3 separate regions of the Homo sapiens genome follow, and all the other regions are linked to region 1. Evidence: promoter capture Hi-C in 16 types of primary human blood cells and fetal thymus (Javierre and others, 2016). All regions are on one chromosome and are shown on one strand. The core of a region is centred on a gene start or on the middle of the fragment in contact, and the rest is flanking DNA. Distances in the headings are between cores, read along the strand shown.

The links. Contacts are between HindIII fragments. The CHiCAGO score rates a contact against its expected background, and 5 or more counts as called.
Region 2: a contact is called between a fragment that was not itself captured here and the fragment with the promoter of KCNK10 in region 1, in 1 of 17 cell types (monocytes). The highest score is 5.4, in monocytes.
Region 3: a contact is called between a fragment that was not itself captured here and the fragment with the promoter of KCNK10 in region 1, in 1 of 17 cell types (neutrophils). The highest score is 5.9, in neutrophils.

What each region holds. Positions count from the first base shown.
Region 1 is chr14:88,320,999-88,325,011 of GRCh38, forward strand. KCNK10 (potassium two pore domain channel subfamily K member 10) reads right to left here and starts at 2,271. Exons shown (of 7, transcript NM_138317.3): 1 at 1,749-2,271. The coding sequence starts at 1,800. RefSeq lists enhancers at 1,617-2,276, 2,849-2,908 and a silencer at 2,559-2,798. The HindIII fragment of the contact is 7,039 bases long and covers 1,860-4,013 here.
Region 2 is chr14:88,017,375-88,021,365 of GRCh38, forward strand. LINC01147 (long intergenic non-protein coding RNA 1147) reads right to left here. Exons shown (of 3, transcript NR_110121.1): 3 at 1,231-1,329. Among named protein-coding and RNA genes, the nearest start is that of HISLA, 5.2 kb to the right of the region's middle. The HindIII fragment of the contact is 3,528 bases long and covers 476-3,991 here.
Region 3 is chr14:87,934,630-87,939,053 of GRCh38, forward strand. GALC (galactosylceramidase) reads right to left here. Exons shown (of 17, transcript NM_000153.4): 17 at 1-249. The coding sequence ends at 103. Among named protein-coding and RNA genes, the nearest start is that of GALC, 56 kb to the right of the region's middle. The HindIII fragment of the contact is 5,069 bases long and covers 1-3,785 here.

The sequences.
Region 1 (4,013 bases), core at 1,021-3,520:
TCCCAAAAGAAAGCCAAGGCATACTTCCGTATTTCCAGAGGTTTCAAATAGAGACAAAATGAAAGGTTTGTGCTGTATTTACAGTATAACAGCCTGGGTGTTTAAAAAAGGCAATACCTCTTCACTCACTCTGCCATAGCCATGGGAACCTCCTTTCAGTTCATCATATACACATACCTCTTCTGCCTCAGGCCCTTTGCACTTGCTGTTCCCTCTTCTGCAACAATTCCCCTCCTCCTTAGACAATTAACTCCTATACATCCTCCAGGCCTAAGTCCAAGTGTCATGTCCTCAGGGAAGCCTTCTCTGGTCCTTGTCAATCTCTTCTATCAGACACTTTCTTAAACCTCTGATGCTCTCCCTGGAGCATACATAAACTTTGAATTATGCATTCCTCCATGGAATTGATTTAGGTCTGTCTCCCTCACTGTAAACTCCAAGTCAGAGCTTTTATCTTTCCTGTTCTGACTGTATCTCCAGAGCTTAGGACAGTGTTTAGCATGTAATAGGTATTTAACAAATATGCTTTTCAGGGATTCTCCCCCCAAAAAAGCAAAGGCACACCTCCATATTTCCAGAGATTTCAAGTAGAGACAAAATAGAAGGTTTGGGCTGTATTTAAGATGTAACAGCCTCAGTGTTTTAAAAAGGCAGTATCTCTTCACTCACTCTTCAATAGCCAGTCAATTCCTAAGACATTTACTCAACAAATAAGATGGTTTCTTCTTTCCAGTCTGGAGAAAAAGAAGAAATGCGCTCATAAAGAACATTAAACACACACGCACCCCAAATAAACAAATTTCAATTCCAATACACACAGAGGCGTTGCCTAGCCTGACACAGTCGTCAGATGAGCTACAAGAAATGCTAAAGAGCATTCTTGTCACAACTGGACACGCGGTTCCAACTTGTTCTGCTCTCATACTGATCACTCCCTTGGAGCCTTAACATCTGTATGCTAATTACAGACACGGTGGCCGACGCTAGGCACACACAAATCCGTCTTAATCCCTCCCTTTTGCGTGGATGAAACCTGGTCCAACATTCGTAAAAGCATGCAAACCACACCATTGCTTGGGCGGGCACACTTCGTGCCCCTCCCCTATGCCTTGCCAGCCCCACCCTTCTCACAAACCACCCCTCCTCCTGCTTCTACTCTGACCTGAGCCTAACTAGCTGCTAGGTTTGGTAATAAGATTGAACGAAGACTCAGGAGGCCCTGTGGGCTCCATTATTCTGCATGCCCTGCGAGAACGGCCCACCCCTAGGGACGGCTGCTGCAACTCGAGCCCCACTTGCTGCCAGGAAACCTTTCCCACTGAGGACACCCGGGCATGCGGCGCAGCTCCAGGTCCAGGGGGAAGCACCCCACCCATCTGCCAGAGAGACAAAGATCACCAGAAACAAAGGACACACACACACACACACACACACACACACACTCGCACACTCAAAGTCAAAAGCAAATACCGACACTTGCAATTTCAAACCAAACAGTCGGCTTGGTCTATCTAAATAGATCTGGAGACAATCTAGGAGGGACAATGATTATGTGGTAATGACAGGCACTATCTGGGTTCGGAACCCACGCTGCCTCCGCCCTCCTCCCACCCGCGCTGCAGTTCCCAGGCGCATTTCCCAGCCTCAGGACACACGCTGCCAGAAGCAAGAGTGCTTCCACTCAAGGAAGCGCGCACACGCCGGAGACAGAGGCAGGGCGAGGGCAGCCAAAAGTAGGAAACACCCACCTTTAGGATCCCAGTTCACCTGTTTTCTTGGCGTCTCGATTGGAAATTTCATTGCTTCGTTGCCCAGAAGGGGAAGAAATGAAAAGAACCCAAATAATAATAAAGTCCTCAAGCTTTACACGCCTCGGTTTAGCAGTCCAACAAAACAATTTCCGAGGATGGGGGAGCCTTGGACTGGCTCGTGGAGGAACCCCAGAAAAAGACAGGTGGGAAAATATTAGCTTGGGGGAGAACTGGAGAGGGCTTGGGTGTTTGCACCGGCCAGGGGGTGGCCGGCCGCGGCCCCGTGGGTAAAAGAAAAAGTAAGATCGGCGAGGGGTGGATGAAAGGATGGAGAGGAAGGCTTGGGGAGATGGAAGAGCCAAGCTGCTTCCCAAAAGCGGTGCCGGCAGGTTAGGGGCTGCGCAGCCTGAAGGCTGGGGCTACGGAGAAGCCCACTGCAGTGTCACTCCAGCCCCCGAAGGCGTGTGCGCACACACTCCCGCACACACACACCCGCACACACACTCCCGGGCGCGCGCTTGGGCGGGCACGTCAGCCTCGCTCGGCCGCGCTGAGCGCACACGCCCCACCCCGGCCGCGGCTCCTCGCCCCCGGCGACGCCCCCCACTTCCCGCTCCCCGAAAGCCATTGGATGTAGGGGTGGCGCGGCGCCCGGGCAGCGCGCGGCGAGGGCGACCCTCCCCGCGGCGCGCCCCAGACGCCGCGCCCCGGCAAGAGGGAGCAGGGCGAGCAGCGGACCGAGGCTCCCAGCTGGGAAGGCGCGCTGAGCCCCCGGCACCCGGCTCGGGGCAGCGGGAGGCGGTCGCGGACTTGCCCGCGGGGCGGCGGGAGGCGGTGGGCGGTGGCGGGGAAGCCGCGGAGGGGCGGGGAACGAGCGGTGGGCGCGCCGCTACTTACTGGCTCGGCCGGCCGGCGGGCGGGCGTGGAGGCGGCAGCGGCGCGCTTGCTGGAGTTGCAGCCGGAGACACGCTTGGTTGCCTGGAAGGCGCTGCAGGAGGCGGAGGAAGGGCCGCTGCGGCTCCGCCGCAGACCTCGGCCTCCGGGTCACCTCTTCTCACCGCTCTCACCCTGAGCTCTCCCTCCTTCTCTTTTCTCACTTCATTTTTTTTCCTCCCGCGTCTGGCTCTCTCGCCTGAGTCCCGAACCCACGTCCCCGCCGCACTCCAAGGAGGCCCGTGCCAGCCATGAGCCTTTTGTTCTGGGACCGCTCCGCATCTGCTGCGCTCTCCCCGCCCGGGGAAGCTCGCTCCCAAGGCACAGCTTGGTCCCTTCCCCAGCTACCTGCAGCCGGACTGGGGCCGCTGGTCGTTGGCTGGAAAGGAGGCTTGAGAGAGGCACGGGGGCCCCCGGAGGAAAGCGGAGTTGCCAAGACCCGGCAGCTCCCGGAAGCGGCGGCCCCGGGATCCTGGGACCAGCAGGGCAGATGCGAAGGGACCCAGACCTGTTCCCGGAAAGGGGCTAAACCTGGAGCATTCGTCTAACGCCCTCTCACTGCCCCTGCTTGAAGCCCCACAGGGGTTTGTGGTGGGGCCTCAGTCTTCAGAAAAGCCAGGTGGTGCTGAGGTGCTCTTGAACGGGTCACTCCGAGTATCAACATGAATGATGCTGACAAATTGCTTCGGATGCCTCGCAACGGAGCCTTACACGTAGTAGGTGCTCAAGAAATACTTGCTAAATGAAGACATGAATTGCATGCTGCAGTGTTGGATAGGAAGTAGTTTAAACCCCTACTCTGGCTTCCAGATAAGGTTACTAAAATTTGTTGTTCATTCAACATATATATTGAACCCCTTCCAAGTGCCATCACTGTGCTATGTGCTGGCCATATGGCAGAGAACAAGACAGAGATCTTGCCTTCATGGGGCTTACTATCTAGTGCCATAAGGTCCTGTTAGATTGTTGTTGCCTTTACTTACGCATAGAAATTGCCCAGCTCATTCCTATGCCTGCCAGCTGGGGTCCTAAAATCCCACACTAGCAGCTGATCTCTAAGTTGCATGCTACTCTACGGCACCTTGAGGCTTCTGGGGAGCCCTATGTCAGCAGCATCTTTCTCACCATCCATCCGTCACTATCACATCAAGGTTTCTGAGTCCAAGAGCAAGACCTACAGAGGTCCGCTGTGGTCTGTGGGAAAGGTGAGTGCTTTGTCACTGGGCTGTCACAGGCACCCCAGGCTGGAGCCCTGAATTCTCTGCAAACCCCGTTCAGGCAAAACTGGTACCAATCTGATGGTGCTACTCTGACTCTTCAGCCCTTTAG
Region 2 (3,991 bases), core at 990-3,489, 300 kb before region 1:
AGCAAAATCTCTGGTTAAACTATTTCCTGCTATATCCCGAGACTCAGATAATGTCCACCAAGGGTCTGGAATCAAGACTTTGGAAGGAAAAATTCAAAATGTTGGTGGTTTTTGGCTTCCTCTTATAGCTTTCAATAAACTGCCACAAAAGACAGATAAAATAATACAATTTTTTGAGAGCTTTTCTGTTAAATTTTTCAAATCCAGAAAACACTGCTGCCCTGTGGGGCCTACACACAGAAACAGTGTGTTTTATGCTTCAGGAAAAGGGTAAACTTTAGCTAGAAAAAGCAAGTCAGCATTGTTTGTGAGTCACTAGTGAGTGGAGTCTCAAAAGCCAGACACTATGGGGAAATAAAAGAACTTTTTAAACCTCTTAGGCTCCCATCTCATATCAAGAAGTAGGCCTGGCTGACTTAAAATTGGAGTTTTCTCTATGCCAGGGGGTAGTGAGAACCAATCATGATGTAAACGAAGCTTCTATTATTCAGGGAAATGAAAAAGCCTGGGCTCCTGACCGCAGTGGTCTAAGGGGAGGAGGCAAAGAAGAGTTAAAATGAGGATGTCGGAGACAAATGTTGATCCTCATGGCCTGAGATCAATAGAATTTCCAGAGTTGCCAGGATGGTCAATGCCAATAGTCTGCTTTTCCTGAAGATAGCTGCAAGCCTCTGGGGAAAACCCCATATTCAGCCTTATGCATGCACTTTACTGTGGTACAAAAATAGAGACTGGCATACAGTTGTGCAGGTTGAGTGTTGCACAAGAAATCCATGTCTAAGAGGGCACCATTCATTTAACAGACATTGAAGATTTGCACATTTATTATGTCCATTTTAAAGCATATGGCAACAAGATGCTTGCTCTAATAAAAGCAGCACGACAACTTTCCAACAACTGGAAGGAAGGTATCATAAGGAAGACACATCTTACTTTTACAGAATGCCCCATGAGCAGCATAGCCCTGCCTCTGCCCTGCTACCATAAGGTCACGTAAGCCTCTCCAACCCCGGAACCACCATGGGAGGAGCTAAGGTAAGTGGAGTATATCTGAAAGACTGAATGTTTAGCCCAGAGTAGCTGAGCTAACCTAAAAAGACAGTTTAAGCAAGAAAACGTGGTGATATCATTAATTCGCAAGTAAAATAATTTTTTGCACTGATACCCAGTAGGTTGGTAAATCAGAAAGAAGAATAAGAATAAGGAGTAGAAGAAGAAGAAGAAGAAACAGTCAGAGAAAATAAGCTACTGTTTTAGGTGCACATGCAGTTGAGTTGTTGTGTGACCACTGTCTCTCAGATGTCCCAGCTTTGACAGGAGGTGGCCTCCCTGGAAAAGAGAAGAAAACATAACTTTTAAGAAAGGATGAGTTCATGTCCTTTGCAGGGACATAGATGAAGCTGGAAACCATCATTCTCAGCAAACTAACACAAGAACAGAAAACCAAACACCACATGTTCTCACCCATAAGTGGGAGTTGAACAATGAGAACACATGGACACAGGGAGGGGAACATTACATACCGGGGCCTGTCGGGGGTTGGAGGGCTAGTGGAGGGATAGCATTAGGAGAAATACCTAATGTAGATGACGGTTTGATGGTGCAGCAAACCACCATGGCACATGTATACCTCTGTAACAAACCTGCACGTTCTGCACATGTACCCCAGAACTTAAAATATAATAATAATTTAAAAAATGATACTATCCACCTATGATCTAGAATCCAGGTTGAATATAGGTCCAATCACCTAGTGCAATGGTTCTCAAACTTTAATGTTTATAAGAATTAACTAGGAATCTTAGTTTAAAAGATTCTTATTCAATACATCTGAAGTGGGGCCTGAGATTCTACATTTCTAAGAAATTCTCAGGTAATGCCAGTGCTGCTGGGCCCTGGGTGTGGGTGTGGAGTTACATAATTTTAGAGTCTAGAGAAGAGGTTCTCAAACTTTAGTATGGATGAGAATCACCTGGAGAGCTTGTTAAGACAGAGCGCTCAGACTGTAGTCTACTCTTGTGTCATCACTGAGTCTTGGCCAATCAAAGGTGACCAACTCTTCAAACTGTGTTCAAATGATGCAAACATCAAGTAGCAACCCATCTGGTTGTTTCTGTACCTCACACCATTTTCTGTATGTCACTTTCTTTCTTCTATCTATAAATCTTCCACCATTTGGCTGTGCTGGAGTCCCTGAGCCTACTCTGGCTCAGGAGTCTGCTCAATTTGCAAATTGTTCTTTGCTCAATCCCTCATCCCCAGAGATTCTGATTCAGCAGGCCTAGGGTGGGGCCTGAGAATTTGTGTTTTTGACAAGTTCCCTGATAACACTGATGTGAGTGGGACACACTTTGAGAACTACTGCTCTCAAATAGAGTGCAGCCCTTTCCTAAGTACCTCCTATTAATTGCCATCTACCAGAAAAAAAGGTACAGTCCCACCCAGTGAAGAGATGGATCCCTCCCACCCCCAAGTTCAGGCCCAACCTGATGTTTGCTGAGACAGAAATTCTCAAGCTAAGGTCTAGGCTCAAAGACTGCAGCTAATCAGGTTTCTGGCTGTGGTCTCTAACCTGCAGAATTGAGAAGAAGCAAACTGAAAGCAGCCAGCTTTTTAAGGGATCTATGTGATCTTTCACCCCTGTCTGATCTCATCACCCAGTGGTGCAGGCCACATTTGGTTCTTATGCCATGCCTTGGCCAATGGTGTTCATATCCATCTCTTCCTCCAAGTTGAAAGCTATTTAAGAACAGAAATCATGTTTAATTCACGTCTTAATTCCCTCTGAGCCTATCCTCAGCTCCCTTCCTAGAAACTAGCAGAGTTTTACATATTCTAGATGTAACAGGAATCCTATTTAGAAGACATTAAATTGTTACATTTTCCATTCCCATATAAGTGATTGTTCTCCCAAAGGCTTTCCATCATTAAAGCCCAGTTTATTGCCCAGGAAAAAGGAGGAAAGTATCAAAATGCCACAATGCATGAAGGAAGATATTACTTGGTGATGCCCTACTGGACAGTGTTAAATCAAGTTTAGCTTAAAGCTGCCTCCTTGTGTATTTTAAGTTCAGCCTAAAGGTTTCTGTGTACATCATGAACTATAACCTAAATGGAGTTGCACTCAGACTGTAGTCTACTCTTGTGTCATCACTGAGTCTTGGACAATCAAAGGTGACCAACTGTTCAAACTGTGTTCAAATGATGCAAACATCAAGTAGCAACCCATCTGGTTGTTTCTGTACCTCACACTAGTTTCTGTATGTCACTTTCTTTCTTCTATCTATAAATCTTCCACCATGTGTCTGCACTGGAGTCCCTGAGCCTACTGTGGCTCAGGAGGCTGCTCAATTTGCAAATTGTTCTTTGCTCAATTAAACTCTGTTAAATTTAATTTGGCTAAAGTTTTTCTTTTAACAACAAAAAGATGAAGTAGATATACCTTCTGATTCTACGAAGAATCCATGAGGTACAGAAAGCGAGAGCAAGAGATAGGACATATTTCCGGATTCATATTAAGAGAGATCAGCAAGGAAACCCAGAAGCAGAGCGGCAGAGGGGACTCATGCCTTGTTTGGGGTTCAGGGAGGAGATCACCTTTTAGGGCACCCCTGCATTAGTAAAATTGCAACAGAACAGAAAAATCGACATGGTGGTATACCATGGTGGTGATACTTAAGAAGAAAAGATAACTGGGAATAGGTCCTCTGCTGTGGGATAGGGAAGGAATCCAAACATTGTCACTTGCTCCCAGAGGAAGAAGAGTATGGAAGAGAGATGAGGGCCAGTGGGCCTCCCATGGATCCCAGTGGGAGGGAAACTTGACCCCATGGCAGAGGCTGCTGGGTGGAGAACCAAGGCCCAGGGTGGATGGAGGAGGCAGCTGAGACCATGGGGAGCTGCTGCTCTAGCAAGAACCAAGACAAGGGAGTATAACTGGAGGGGACACAGTAGACCCCCAGCAGACCACCAGATCACCAATTATACTGAC
Region 3 (4,424 bases), core at 1-2,500, 390 kb before region 1:
AAAAGCCTCATATACTGTTCCAATGAAACAAGAATTGGCTCTGAACCAAAACCAAAAAGAAGGGAAGAAAATCCAGAGTATTCTATGATGCCCTGTTAAGTATTAGCGTGTGGCTTCCACAAGAAAGTTGTCAAACTGTGCAAATTCAAAGGAGTGAGTTCCAATTGCAGCCCAGCCATTCTTTGGAAAATTCACAGGGATGTCTGTCCACAGAGACTTGTCATTCAGCATGCCAGAGGTGAAATGACCCTAGAGTAGAAAGAAACACATTCCTTGAAACCATATGAAAATGGTCCTCTGAAGTCTGTTTCTTGATCATGTATGGCCCACTACTTAGTGGAGCAAATGTACTACTCACTCAAGACTTAACCACAGCAAAACACAATTCCACAAGTTTGAGCAAAAGTTTAAAATACAGGAAAAAACTCTAGGAAGAAATTCTTATCTACCTACTTAAATCGTTCCCAAAGTACAAGGAATACCTCAATATTTCCTGTGCTCCACCAAAATTTAAAACCAACAAAATGCAAAACTTTTCAGGCATTATTATAAAGTTTTAGAAAAAAGCTCATTAAAATTTAACAAAAGTTATTTATAAGTAGTCACATGTACAAGTGGTGTGGCTAACAGCCACCAGCTCTTCAGACATGACTGCTGGAGTCAAAACATCTGCTTCTACCTCATTGCTTCCTTAAGGTTTTCATTAAGGAGCCTCTGCCCAGCCAGAAGAAAAATAATTAACCTTAGTTTTTGTGTTTTGTTGCCATGAATAGAATATCACTTCAAAGCCATATGAAGCTCCTACCCTTAAGTTGGAAAAACAGTAACCATCAGTTAAAGTGATGCTGGAGTAGGGTGCAGCGGGTGGAAGAAGGGAGGCATCTATAAGGTGTGACTTACTGGTCACTGACAGTGAAAGAAAAAATTACACCTTCCTCCGAATGTTGCCATTCTACTTAGCTCAGTGCCTGGCACATGGTAAACAATAAATCTCAGCTCTTATTATCTTTATGATAGTACATTTATGAGCACATATTCACAGCATACTAACTACAGTCAATCATATAAAACTAGCTACTCTCAGAAGGTGAAGAGCTCAAAACTCAAAGCACTGGGCCAAGAACCAGAATAAATCTGCTTTTAAGTCTTGGAAGTATAACGTAATGGGCCTTAATTTAGTTCTTTTATTTTATGCGTGGAAACACTGAGGCTTAATAGATTAAAGCTCAAAGTCACAGGTTTTCACTCCAAGTTACCTAGCTCCAAATTCAGAGCCACATTCCTATTACTACAGACTTGCACAGCTATCTTCAGCTCTAGAAGTGCTTACTGAACATCTTCTGCTGCCATCAAACACTCAATATTAACACCGAGCCAAGGGACTCAAATCACAGATCACATTAAGCACAAAACCTGTCTAACAGGACCTTATCTCTCCTGACTCCCCAGACTTCAGCCACCCCAGCCTCCAGGCTGCTCTTCACACAATGTCAGCTACACCTGCCTTTTGCACCTGCCACTTGGTCTGCTCAAATTGTTCTTCCCAGCATTCAGGTCTGCACTCAAGTACTACCCACTCAGTGAGGTCTTTCCTCACCTCCCTGGTTAGAGAATCAGGGTAACAGAGCTACTTTATCTCATGACTCTATTTTTTCTTCATAATCATTTATAAACTTATTTACAAGTTTATTATCTCAGGATAGGGCTCAGCAAACTATGACCTACATGCCAACCGCCCTTTTTTTAATAAATAAAATCTTACTGAAACACAGCCACATCCATTGTCTATGGCTTTTTTTCTCATTATTGTCTATTGTCTATGGCTTTTTTACTCATTACAATAGCCGAACTGGGTAGCCACAGCAGAGACCACATGGCCCACGAAGTCTAAAATATTTACTATCTGGCCCTTTACAGAAAAAGTTGCCAACCCCTGTCCTAGAAGAATATATGCTCTAAGAGAGCAGGAATCTTGTCTGTTTCGTTCGCTGCTGTATCCCTAGGACTTAGTAAAGTGCATACAGTAGGGGCTTAATAAAAATGTGTTGAATATAAGAATGAAACACATTTAACCCTCAAAACAACCTCACAGAAGTTATCTCCATTTTGCAGATAAGGAAATGGATACTCAAAGAGGTGGAATAACTTGCTAGAAGTCTCAGCATGTGTTAGTGAGGAAATACGAATGCTGGTCTGTCTGGTTCCAAACACTCCTACTCCTAAAAATATTAACTTGACTCATTAAGTGCTTACCACATATCAGGTACTATATATATATATATATTTATTTATTTTCTCATTGAATCTTCATAAGAAAAGTGTTCTTCATGATATCATGGATGGGAAAATTGAAGCTGTGCAATATAAAATACTTGCAAGTAGAATATAGTAGACTTCAAAGTCCATTGTGCTACCCACCATGCAACAGAACTGGGACAAGTCACCTGACAAGTGCTGAGAAGAATTCAACAGGTGGCTGATAGTCAGTGACAAAATCCTCACATTAGCTGTAATTTGGAATATGGGCAACATAGAAGATGATGTTTTGTTTTTTTTATTTACGCAAAGAAGATTTATATGTCAAATACTGTTTAATGCACTGGGAATTTAAGATGAACAAGAAAGACAAGGTCCCTGCTCTTATGGAGCTTATATTCTAGTAGGAGATGGACAGATATGCACACACACACAAAATGAGAGCTAAAAGATAAGTAGCATGTAAAAATTAAGCCAGGTCAAGGTGACAATGGGTGCCTGACAGACTACTTTAGTGCAGATAGTTACAGAAGACCCTCAGAGTATGTGGCAAAAGCTGAGATTCAAGAGGAAACAGAATGCCCATAGTTGATGAAACACAAAATAACAGGAGTAGGGGAGTGAGGTGGGTGCAAGCCAGCAAAGTCCTATCCATCCTAGTAGCAAGACAAGAGCCAATTTTTAAAAGTAATGAATCACATTGTATTAAAGACACACCAGAAGAAACAGCTAAAATAGTGAAGAGTGGCTGTATCAGAAGTACAAGACACAGAATGGGGTCAAGAAGAAGGAACAGGATGTGAGGCAAGATGCCTCACATCCTATTGATATTTTAACCAGGTATGCAAAGTACCTGAAAAAAATTAAGAAAATTTTTAAAATCTCATTCATGATTTCAAAAAAACTCATAAAATTACTAAAACAAACCTAATCAAAAGTTTGCAAAAATAAAACTGAAGGACATAGTGGCAAATCTTAATAAATGGTGAAATATAGCATGCTTTTGTTCCTGTGTTCTCTCATGGGGAAACACATTATTGTTAAAAAAAAAAAAGTCATTTTTTCCTAAATTGATGTGTAAATTTAATGTAATACCAGCACCATTTTTCAAGTAACTGAAAGTTTGTTTTTTAAAAGTCAAATCGAATAATATATATAGTGGAATAGCAAAGATAATTTTGAAAAAGAAACAATGAGGAAGTTGCCCCACCAGATATCCATTCATTCATTTACCAAGTATTATTCGGACTCTTGCTCTGCCTGGCTGTCAGGCACTTTTCTAGGTGCTACAGAGCCAGCAGTGAGGAATATGGAGAAAAGCCTGTCACTAAAGGAGCTATGTGCTAGTGAAGGGAGTAGGAAAACACATGAACAATTAACAGAATATGTGTGATGTCAGCTTGGGATAAAACTTTTGGAGAAAAATAAAGCAACAGAAAGGAGTTAGAGAGTGAGATGGGGCGCTGTTTTCTATCAGGTGGTCAGGTAAGAAAACTCTGAAGGAAGCAAGGGAGTAGCTGTATCATCAAAGCTTTTAGAATGTGAACACCAATTAAAAGCGTGATTTTGGATAATAATAGACAAACATCAATATGGAGAACAGAAAAAAGTTCAGAAACAAGCATGTGCACATGTGCTGATTTGTTACATCAAAAAGGTAGCCTTTAAATTATGGGCAAAAGGATAGTCCATTGTAATAAATGATGGCTATCCATTTTTTAAAAAATTATATTCAGTACTTCCCCTTACAATTCACAAGTAAATTTCTGACGTATTAAAGACTTACACATAAAAATAAATCCTAAACTTTGTTTAGCTTGGGGGAAAAATGTTCCTAACCTTGAGAAACAAGAAGGCCTTATTTAAAACATGAAACATAAAAGCAATGAATAAAAAGTGAAATATTTGACAGTATCAAAATGTAAAACTTATAATCATCAAAAATACCATAAGCAAAATTAGAATACACATGAAGGAAGAGCATAGTTGTGACGTATGTAACAGACAATGGGTTACTATCCAGAATACATATTAAATTCACACAAATTTGCCAGAAAAAGACAACATGATAGAAAAATGAAGAAAGAAGTGAACAGGCAACTTCAGAGAAGAGAAAATACAAATAGCCAGTAAACATTAGATGTGCAAGCTCCCTAATTATCAAGGAA